3 separate regions of the Homo sapiens genome follow, and all the other regions are linked to region 1. Evidence: promoter capture Hi-C in 16 types of primary human blood cells and fetal thymus (Javierre and others, 2016). All regions are on one chromosome and are shown on one strand. Each heading gives the region's core, a stretch centred on a gene start or on the middle of the fragment in contact. The rest is flanking DNA. Distances are from core to core; before and after follow the strand shown. Region 1 holds the start of OR7E24 (olfactory receptor family 7 subfamily E member 24). Region 2 overlaps LOC105372270 (a long non-coding RNA gene). Region 3 overlaps ZNF426 (zinc finger protein 426).

Region 1 (3,784 bases), core at 950-3,449:
CACTGCAACCTCTGCCTCCTGGATTCAAGTGATTCTCCTGCCTCAGCCTCCCGAGGAGCTGGGATTATAGGCACGCACCACCATGCCTGGCTAATTTTTGTATTTTTAGTAAAGATGGGGTTTCACTATGTTGTCCAGGCTGGACTCCAACTCCTGACCTCAGGCGATCTGCCCACCTCAGCCTCCCAAAGTATTGGGATTACAGGTGTGAGCCACCGCGCCCGGCCATAATGTAAATTTCTACAGTGCTGAACAATAATGCGTTTTAAGAAGATATTTGAATGAATCACGTTGCCTGGTGCTACATTCTTTTGTAACTTACCCATTGTAGCTCCGTCCCTTTAGAAACATCATCACCTGAACTATTTCTGGTGCTTTTAAAATTCCTCAACCCACACAGGTCCAAGTAAATTTTGGTAATGACACCCAGGCCTCAGTATTTGTGAGGTCCCCAGGTGATTTCAATAAAACCAAATGTGAGGACCATTGATAGACATCATCATACGTAAGCTGCCTAAAGTGATTTCCTAGATGCGATTTGGACAGAAATTACACAGGAACTGTAGAAAGGGAGGTAAATACGAAGTACGATAAGTCCTCACTTAACATCCTCCACAGAAAATTAGAAACCACAATTCAAGCAAAACGATGAACCATGAAACCAATTTATTCATTTCTCACCAAAATTAAAACTAAACAACATTGAACAAAATGAACTTATTTCAGGACCTGCTGCGCTTTTTTTTTAAAGTTGCAGTTTCCAAAAACCTCTTGACAAAGTTAAGTGAGGATTTCAAGTCTATCAGAAAAGATTGTGATTGCACCTGGATATCAAGGTCATTGCACAGATACTAAAGGAGGCTGTCTAGGTATATTGGAATCATTCATGATGTGTATGATGAACAAAGGATACCAGAATACTCACCCATTGCAATTAAAGACAAAACAAAGCAAGCAATATTCACATACGAAACCCAGAGAGGAATGAAAGCCATCAAGCAACCAAAATAATGTGACCAAGGAGGCAGAATTTGCAGGCCTAGGTGTTAAATTTTGCTGCCATTTCTATCCCATATAACAAAAAGGATGGAGATGATGAGATTTGATGATTCTGCCATGCAGCCTGCACAGGGCACTTTGAATGTCCTTGTTCCTCAGGCTGTAGATGAAGGGGTTCAGCATGGGGGTGACCACAGTGTACATCACTGAAGCCACCATACTCTTCCTGGGGGATGGTAACACAGCTGAACTGAGGTACCCTACAAGCCCTGTTCCATAAAATAAGCAAACAACTGCCAGGTGAGAGCCACAGGTGGAGAAGGCTTTATACTTCCCATCTGATGTTGGAACTCTCAGAATGGGGGAAACAATTTTATAGTAAGAGAAAAGGATCCCTGAGATAGGGAGACAGCCAAATATGGCACCCATGAAATATATGACCATTTCATTGATGAAGGTGTCGGAACACCTAAGGTGGAGGAGTTGAGAAGGGTCACAGAAGAAATTAGAAATGTCCACATCCTTGAAGCAGGTGAGCTGTAACATAATCAAATTGTGCAACTGGGAGTCCAAAAGACTAATAAAAAAAGACAACAAGATTAAGAAGCCACAGAGGCGTGGGTTCATGATGATTCGGTAGTGCAGGGGGTGACAGATGGCCACAAACCGGTCATAGGCCATCACACTCAGGAGCATGTCATCCATACATGCAAAAAGGACAAAAAAAGACATCTGAGTCAGGCAGCCTTCATAGGAGATGACTCTGCTGTGAGTTTGCATGTCCACAATCATCTTGGGGACCGTGGTGGAGGTGAAACCGATGTCAGCCAAGGACAGGTTGGAGAGGAAGAAGTACATGGGGGTGTGGAGGTGGGAGTCAGAGCTGACAGCCAGGATGATGAGCAGGTTCCCCAGCACCGTGACCAGGTACATGGACAGGAACAGCCCAGCGAGGACCGGCTGCAGTTCTGGATCCTCTGAGAGTCCCAGGAGGAGGAATTCTGAGACACCTGTGAGATTCTGTGGCTCTGTGTAGCTCGGACACCTTTTGAGGAAAAAAAAAAAGAGAATTGGAAAATAGGACATAAGTAAACCAGCATCTAGCACTGTGTCTATATTTTGGATACAAGCAATTAAGAAATTAAGTTTTCACATAGGATTATACACCCTCAGCAATAGTTCTCAGTTGTGACAAACCCAATTTCCTTAGAGTTACTTCATAATTGATTTTGTGTTATTCACCTCTTTCTGTATACACTTAACTTAGAGACAGTCTATTGAAGAATGTTAGGAGAGCAAAAACATTAGAGATTTTAGAAATCCATGATCACGGTAAAATATAGCCTAATTTATCAGGAAAAAATATACAACAAAAATATTCTTGCCCCTTTAAGAAAAAGATTAAATCCATTGAAAGGATACTAAGAAGGAGTCAGCTATGTCTTGTTTTATTCTAATACAATTCTACAAATTCCATTGATTGAGGATATTTATCAACACTCAATGAGATCTAGGATCATGTTGTCTCAAAACTCAATGAAAGTTCATAGTTCATAGCCAGAAAACATCTTTACATACCAGTTATATTCTACGGTTTCCATCATTCTTACGTTTTCTGACTTTCATTCTTCATGGAAGTAAGTACTCACTCAAATATGTGGGCTTTCTTTTAAAATTCACTTAATTATAATTCCTGTCCTTGCCTTAGGTGGACTTGGAGTTTTGATAAGAAAGTAGCCCAGGGTGGTGGCTCACACCTGGAATCCTAGCACTTTGGGAGGCCAAGGCAGGAGGATTGCTTGAGGATGTGAGTTTAAGACCGGCCTGGAAAACACAGCAAAACCCCATCTTTACAAAAAACTAAAAAATTAGACAGGCATGGTGGCGCCGCCCTGTAGTCCCAGCTACTCAGGAGGCTGAGTCAGGAGAATCGCTTGAGCCCTGGAGTTCGAGGCTGCACTGAACCATGATCATACCACCGCACTCTAGGCAGAGTGGCAGAGTGAGACCTTGACTATTAAATCAATAAGTAATTAAAAGGAAGGTTTAGTTAAATGCACATAATTACCAGGACATCACTGATAGCAAAGATGTTGATAGTGTGCAACGTACCTGTGGATGACAGAACATTAATATAATGTTAAAATGCTTTTAATTTTTTTTTTTAAGACCTGAGTCTCGAAGTTTTGAGCCTGTCACCAGGCTGGAATGCAGTGGCATGATCTCAGCTCACTGCAGCCTCCGCCTCCTGGGTTCAAGCGATTCTTATGCCTCAGCTTCCCGAGTAGCTGGGACTACAGGCGCACGCCCCACCATGCACAGCTGATTTTTGTATTTTTAGTAGAGATGGAGTTTCACCATGTTGGCCAGGCTGGTCTCAAACTTCTGACCTCAAGTAATCTGCCCACCTCTGCCTTTCAAAGTGCTGGGATTACAGGTGTGAGCCACTGTGCCTGGCCAAGGTAATGTTAAAATACTTTGGCATTACTTTCGTTGTGGCTGGAATCATGTGAAACTCTAAAATGTATCTTGATCTAAACAATAAGGTTTACCTGCCCCCACTTCCTTCTGCATCCTTTTCTCTTTTTTTATGCCTGTAAAAATCTCTGCCATGGTCTTTAAGTAATTGAATGTTGTAGATGCTATTATTATGTGTCCATAATATAGACACAAAAAAGTGCTATTTTACCTTCTGCCTAGTTTGTGACACATTCCTGGAAGGAATGAAAGTACAGATAGGAAAGCAGTGAGTGTGTTGAAGTCACACTGATCACAGCCAGTTTTG
Region 2 (3,784 bases), core at 629-3,128, 470 kb before region 1:
AGAGGCAGTGTGGAAACCTCAGAAGGTGGCAGTCATGCACTGCAGGGGACACCAGTGAGCTTCCACCTCAGTGGCCTTGGGAAACTCTCGAGCTGATTCAGAAACTCGAAAAGCAGCATCTACCCCTTACCGGGCATCGGTAGCAGCCCCCTTACTCCCTCAAACACCTGACCTGGTACTACCTATTCTAAGGAAGAAAAAGACTTCTTCCATGCAGAAGGGGGGCAAGTAATAAAAGGAGGATGGAACAGACTGCCAGATGGGAGGGTAGCTGTGCTGCAGTTAATGGGAGCCACAATCGTATTGGCCATGCACGAAACCACTCATCTAGGTCAAGAGTCACTTGAAAAATTGTTAGGCCGGTACTTCTACATCTCACACTTGCCAGCCCTTGCAAAGCAGTAGCACAATGGTGCATTACTTGCCGACAGCACAATGCGAGGCAAGGCCTCACTGTTCCACCCGGCATACAAGCTTATGTACGGCTCCTTTTGAGGATCTTCAGGTGGATTTCACAGAAATGCCGAAATGTGGAGGTAACAATTATTTGCTGGTTCTTGTGTGTACTTACTCTGGGTGGGTGGAGGCTTATCCAACATCAACTGAAAAGGTCTACGAGGTAACCTGTGTGCTTCTCTGAGATCTTATTCCTGGGTTTGGACTGCCCTTATGAATCAGCTCAGAACATGGCCTGGCGTTTGTGGCTGACTTGGTACAGATTAGCCGGGTGCATTAGCAGCACCTGTATTCCCAGCTACTTGGGAGACTGAGGCATGAGGATCACTTGAGCCTGGGAGGTGGAGGTTTCAGTTAGCCCAGATTGTGCCACTGCATTCCAGCCTGGAAGATGGAACAAGACTTTGTCTCAAAAAAAATTTAATCATTGAAAAGTAAAATAATAATTGTCATCAAAATAATGTTTCTGTGTTCAAATGGGTGAAATCTCTTAATATGTTGGAAAATGTTTTAAATCCTTTATCCCCTCATCAGCAGACAAGAAGCTACAGTGGATGGAAACTCTGTAAGAATTGTGAAGAGGTCTTCAGGGAGCTGTTTTTCCTTAAGACACACATGAGAGCTCAGAATGGAGGGAACACTTTTGAGGGTAATTGTTATGGAAAAGACACCCTTAGTGTGCACAAAGAAGCCTCTATTGGACAGGAACTTTCTAAATTTAATCCATGTGGAAAAGTCTTCACCCTAACTCCAGGCCTTGCTGAACATCTTGAAGTTCTCAATGCAAGACAACCGTACAAATGTAAGGAATGTGGAAAAGGCTTTAAGTGTTTTGCAAGCCTTGATAATCACATGGGAATTCACGCTGGTGAGAAACTCTGAATTTCAGGAATGTGGGAGAACCATCACACCCTCCTCACACCTAAAGCAGTGTGTAACAGCTCATACTGGAAAGAAATTCAAAAAGACTAAGAAATATGGGAAATCCTTCACTAATTTTTCTCAACTTTCTGCACATGTGAAAACTCATAAAGAGGAGAAGTCCTTTGATTGTAAAGAATGTGGAATTTCCGTTAGAAATTCCTCATATCTTAATGATCACATTCAAACTCCAACTGGAGTAAAAACCACACAAATATACAGACTGTGGGAAAGCCTTCACTAGATCAATTCAACTTACTGAACATGTAAGAACTCACACTGGGGTAAAACCCTATGAATGTAAGGAATGTGGGAAAGCCTTCACTCAGTACACGGGCCTTGCTATACACTTACGAAGTCACAGTGGAGAGAAACCCTATCAGTGTAACAAATGTGGAAAAGCCTTCACTAGATCCTCAGGCCTTACTCAACATACAATAATTCAGATGGGAGAGAAGCCTTATGAATGTGTTGAATGTGGAAAAACCTTCATTACTTCTTCCCATCGTACTTAACATTTGAAAACTCATAGTGGAGAAAAGCCCTTTGTATGCAAGATATGTGGGAAAGCATTTATATTTTCCTCATCCCTTAATATTCACCTGCAAACTCATACTGGAGAGAAACCCTTCATATGTAAAGAATATGGGAAAGCATTTATTGTTTCCTCACACCTAGGTAGACATAAAATCATGGCTGGGCACAGTGGCTCATGCCTGTAATCCCAGCACTTTGGGAGGCCAAGGTGGGTGGATCATGAGGTCAGGAGATCTGAGACCATCCTGGCTAACACGGTGAAACCCCATCTCTACTAAAAGTACAAAAAATTTGCCAGGCATGGTGGCATGCACCTGTAGTCCCAGCTACTCAGGACGCTGAGGCAGGAGAATCCCTTGAACCTTGGAGGCAGAGGTTGCAGTGAGCCGAGATCGATTGAGCCACTGCACTCCAGCCTGGACAACAGAGTGAGACTTCATTTCAAAAAAAAGAATTCACACTGGGGAGAAACCCTATGAATATAAGGGTATGAGTGTTACCATTTAGCTCATCGGTTGCCATCTTTAATTATTGGCAGTGACACCAGAAGATTATCAGATTTGTCCTAAATGCCTTGTGAGGGTTGTAATGGCTGATGGACTGGCCTTAGATGCCATCCCAAGAGTCTGAAATTAAACCTACAGCTTCTGAATACAACTTCATGGTTGCCTGAGTCTTGGTATCTGTGAAGAAGGGTCATGGATGGTGAGGTCAGTACTGCAGGCTGCCTCACCTTGCTGATTAGATTCCTAAGATCATAGCATTAACAAGTTCTGTGTGAGATAAATCATGCAGATTGACCCCAGCCCCTGTTGGTTAGTGGCTGCCAGTGGCACATTCATGTCAAAATTTACCAGAAGCCAAGATAATGTAGGCCCCAGAGTTGGGTTGTTAAAAGATGCTCCTCCAAGAGTCTTCTCTGTTCCCAGGGATCCTGCAGATCATGGCAGGAATGAAACCATCTTTTACTGCCAGTGCACTTTCAAAGCTGATTATTTCTGTGACCGCTTCTTGTAAAATCTAAGAAGTGTGACAGCCTTGCCTGTTCTGTTCTGCCTTCTCTGTCCATTTTACATGGCACAATGTAAGTGGCAGTGTCTCTTCTAGTGTAATCCAGTCTCTCTCCTCATTTCTCTTAAGATGGCTGATATAGTCCATGAATCCCACTCATGATCTCTTTATGAGATGATTTTTCAGCCACACTTTGAGGATTCTCTTCAGTACAAGTTTTCTAATTTTTGTAGTATGAATAGGCTGAGAATTTTCCAAATCTCCAAGTTCTGGTTTCTTGTTCCTTAACAATTTATTCTGCAATTCAAGTCTCCTCTTTTGCATTTTCCTGTAAGCAGTCAGGAAGAATGAAGCTTCCTGTGTCCTTTAACACTTTAATTACAGATCTTAGTGATAAATACTCAATTTTATCTCTCTGAAGCTCTACCTTCCACAAAATGCTAGAATACAGTTCTGCCAAGTTCTTCACCACTTTATATCAAGGGTTGTCTTTTCTTTATTTTCCAATAGCATGTTCCTCATTCCCCAGTGACACCTCACCAGAATTACCCTTATCAACCTTATTTCCAGCTTGCACATCAGAACTTTTCGAGCTTCTACTCATTTGTCAGTTTCAAAGCTGCTTCACGTTTTTAGTTTTTTGTTTGTTTGTTTGTTTTTAATTGCAGTACCTCTACTTCTCAGTACAAAATCTGCCTTAGCTCAGGCCACCATAACAAAATACCACAGACCAAATGGCTTACAAATCCATTTAATTTTAAATAAGTGAGGTTAAAACCACAGAAATCTATTGTTGGAACAAATTTTTAGTGCCACAAAAGAAATAGCATTTGAATATAAGTTTTCTCAGCTAGGCAAA
Region 3 (3,784 bases), core at 369-2,868, 280 kb before region 1:
TACCCTGTGTGAGAAAACCTCTACTGGTGAGAAACTTTCTGAGTTTAATCAGAGTGAAAAAATCTTCAGCCTGACACCAAATATTGTATACCAGAGAACTAGCACACAAGAAAAGTCATTTGAATGTAGTCACTGTGGAAAATCCTTCATTAATGAGTCATACCTTCAGGCACATATGAGAACTCACAATGGAGAAAAACTCTACGAATGGAGGAATTATGGGCCAGGTTTTATTGACTCTACAAGCCTTTCTGTGCTTATAGAAACCCTCAATGCAAAAAAGCCCTACAAATGTAAGGAATGTGGAAAAGGCTATAGATACCCAGCCTACCTCAGTATTCACATGCGAACCCACACTGGGGAGAAACCATATGAATGTAAGGAATGTGGGAAAGCCTTCAATTATTCCAACTCATTTCAGATACATGGAAGAACTCACACTGGAGAGAAACCCTATGTATGTAAGGAATGTGGGAAAGCCTTCACTCAGTACTCGGGCCTTAGTATGCATGTACGATCTCACAGTGGAGACAAGCCCTATGAATGTAAGGAATGTGGGAAATCCTTCCTTACATCCTCACGCCTTATTCAACATATAAGAACTCACACTGGAGAGAAGCCTTTTGTATGTGTTGAATGTGGGAAAGCCTTTGCAGTTTCCTCAAATCTTAGTGGACATTTGAGAACTCACACTGAAGAGAAGGCCTGTGAGTGTAAGATATGTGGGAAAGTATTTGGGTATCCCTCATGTCTTAATAATCACATGCGAACGCACAGTGCCCAGAAACCATACACCTGTAAGGAATGTGGGAAGGCTTTTAACTATTCCACCCACCTTAAAATTCACATGCGAATCCACACTGGAGAAAAACCCTATGAGTGTAAACAATGTGGAAAGGCCTTCAGTCATTCCAGTTCATTTCAAATACATGAAAGGACTCACACTGGAGAGAAACCCTATGAATGCAAGGAGTGTGGGAAAGCCTTCACGTGTTCCAGTTCCTTTAGAATTCATGAAAAAACTCACACAGAAGAGAAACCCTATAAATGTCAGCAATGCGGGAAAGCTTACAGTCATCCCCGTTCACTTCGAAGACATGAACAAATTCACTAGTGAGAAACTGTCCATGTAATAAATGTGGGAAAGCTCTCATTTGTTCCAGTTCACTTTAAAGACATGAATGAACTCACTCTGGAGAGAAGAAGCTGCATGAAAATTACTTAATTCCTGTAATCCCAGCATTTTGAGAGGCTGAGGTGGGTGGATCACTTGAGGTCAGGAGTTTGAGACCACCCTGGCCAACATGGTGAAACCTTGTCTCTACTGAAAATACAAAAAATTTAGCCAGGTGTGGTGGGCACCTGTAATCCCAGCTACTTGGGAGGCTGAGGCAAGTGAATCACTTGAACCCAGGAAGCAGAGGTTGCAGTGAGCAGAGATCATGCCACTGCACTCCAGCCTGGGCGATGGAGTGAGACTCCATCTCAAAAAAAAAAAAAAAAGAAAATTATTTGATTAAATTGAGTCTGTTAGAGTACATCCCTAATCCAATATGATTGGTGTCCCTATAAGAAGAGAAAGACACAACTGAGACAACAAATAGAAGATGATGTGAAGTCATCAGATGATGGCCATCTGCAAGCCAAAGACAGAGCACTGGGACAGATCCTTCTATCAAAGCCACCAACCCTGCTGGCACCTTCATCTTGGGCTTCCAGAACTTTGAACAAATAAAATTCTCTTGTTTGAGCCACCCAGTCTGTGGTATTTTGTTGTGGTGGCTCTAGCAAGTGAATACAGTAAGCAATAAGCAAAAACGTTTATAGATTGTCCAAAAGCCTTAATATTCACATGCAAAGCCACACTGGAGAGAAACTATATGAATGTAAGACGTGGGAGAGCCTTCATTGAGTCTTCAGTCCTTTCTACATACAGGAGAAATCACATAGGAGAGAAATTGTATGAATGTAAGGAGCATGAAAAAGCCTGTGAATGTTCACTATATTTTAATATTCACATGCAAGTTGTCTGGTCGTAGACCATGTGAAAATAGAGGAGAAAAAAGGAAAGAAAGTTTCTTTTACTGTGAACGCAAGGAATGTGACCCCATACACCATACTGGAACTTGGAGTGGACTGAAATCCCATTAGGATTGTGGAAAAGCTTACATTAATGTTTTCTACCTTCTAGAAGGTGTAAGAAGTCGAACTGGAGAGAAGCCTTTTACCTGTAATGCATGTAGGAAGCCTTACATTAATTCCACAGAATTTTTTTTACACATGTAAAATTACCTCAGAACCCTGGGAAGGTAAGGAATATGGTATAACCTTTAAATATTTCACATGCCATAATAAGTACATGAATTCTGATAATACTGTACCGTTTCTTGAGTAGTGTTAGTACCTTATACTATCAAAATAATCCTAAATCCTCCCTCTCAGACCTTCCATCATTACTATATTTCACTTTTATGCCTATAAACACACACAAATTAGCATATGTAATCTAATACATTGTAGCTATTTTTCAGAAGTTATCAGATCAATTAAGTATTAGAAAAATAAACATTTTTATTTTACCTTCACTTCTTCCTTCTATGCTCAAAGTTGGATGTAATTCTTATACTTGATCCTCAATACTTAAAGCATTTCCCCCCCTCTGGCTTCTATGAAAATTTTTTGTTATCTTTGATATTCTGTTATTTTTAAATGATATGCCTAGGTATAGGTTTTTGGTGCTCGTCCTTCTTGGTGTTTGCTTAGCCTCCTGGATTTGCGTTTTGGTGTCTGAGTTAATTTTGAGAAATTCTGTCATTGTTTCCCTTTTTTTTTCTTTCCATCTGGTATTTCCTTTATATGTAGGATACATCTTTTGTAGTTATCCCACAGTTCTTATATCTTGTTTTTTTATTCTTCTCTTTGCTTTTCAGGTGTGGATGTTTCTGCTGATATATTCTCAAGCTCTTTAGTTGGCTGTTTCTTGGCCAATAATAAGCCTACCAAAGACATTCTTCATTTCTGTTACACTGTCTTCAATTTCTAGCATTTCTTTGTGGTTCTTAGAATTTCCATCTCTGTGTTTACACTGCCTGTCTGTTCTTGGATGCTGTCTGCTTTATCCAGTAGAACCCATGGCATATCAATCATAATTGTTTTAAATTCCCAGTCTGATAATTTCAGCAATCCTGCTATATCTGGTTCTGGTTCTTACTCTTTCTCTTTAAACTAACTTTTGCCTTTTAGTATGCTTGTAATTTTTCCTTAGCTGGACATGGCATACTGGATAAGAGGAAATGCTGTAAGCAGGCCTCTAGTAATCATGATAAGCTGTGGGGAGAGGGGCAGCATTCTATTGTCCAGGGATTAGATGTCAGTCTTGCAGTGAGTCTGTGCTTCTGCACTGTGAACTTCAGTTTTTCCCACCCTTTAGTTGGGTCAGGATGTATAGAGTTGGCTGGAGTTGGATATTTCCCTTCCTCCAGGTCACTGAAGCTCTGACTAAAACTCCAGGTGTGGTGGCTTATGCCTGTAATACCAGCACTTTGGGAGGCCAAGGCAGGTGGATCACCTGAGGTTGGGAGTTCATGACCAGCCTGAATTGCTTGAATCCAGGAGGTGGAGGTCACAGTGAGCCGAGATTGTGATACTGCACTCCAGCCTGGGAAACAGTGAGACACTGTCTCAAAAAAATAAATAAATAAATAAAAGGCTAGGCGCAGTGGCTCAACCCTGTAATCCCAGCACTTTGGGAGGCAGAGGTGGGTGGATCATGAGGTCAGGAGAT

Evidence for each region. The method cuts DNA at HindIII sites, captures the fragments that hold promoters and counts their contacts. A CHiCAGO score of 5 or more calls a contact.
Region 2: a fragment that was not itself captured here is called in contact with the fragment with the promoter of OR7E24 in region 1 in 1 of 17 cell types (total CD4 T cells); the score reaches 5.3 in total CD4 T cells.
Region 3: a contact is called between a fragment that was not itself captured here and the fragment with the promoter of OR7E24 in region 1, in 1 of 17 cell types (naive CD8 T cells). The highest score is 5.6, in naive CD8 T cells.

Annotation. Positions count from the first base shown.
Region 1 is chr19:9,249,345-9,253,128 of GRCh38, reverse strand. OR7E24 (olfactory receptor family 7 subfamily E member 24) reads right to left here and starts at 2,199. Exons shown (of 1, transcript NM_001079935.2): 1 at 504-2,199. The coding sequence starts at 2,085. The coding sequence ends at 1,066. The HindIII fragment of the contact is 19,830 bases long and covers 1-3,784 here.
Region 2 is chr19:9,722,287-9,726,070 of GRCh38, reverse strand. It overlaps LOC105372270 (a long non-coding RNA gene), which reads right to left. Exons shown (of 2, transcript NR_187774.1): 2 at 3,661-3,784. It also overlaps the pseudogene LOC100130854. Among named protein-coding and RNA genes, the nearest start is that of ZNF846, 45 kb to the left of the region's middle. The HindIII fragment of the contact is 2,804 bases long and covers 477-3,280 here.
Region 3 is chr19:9,525,710-9,529,493 of GRCh38, reverse strand. ZNF426 (zinc finger protein 426) reads left to right here. Exons shown (of 8, transcript NM_024106.3): 8 at 1-3,784. The coding sequence ends at 1,114. Among named protein-coding and RNA genes, the nearest start is that of ZNF426, 11 kb to the left of the region's middle. The HindIII fragment of the contact is 1,097 bases long and covers 1,070-2,166 here.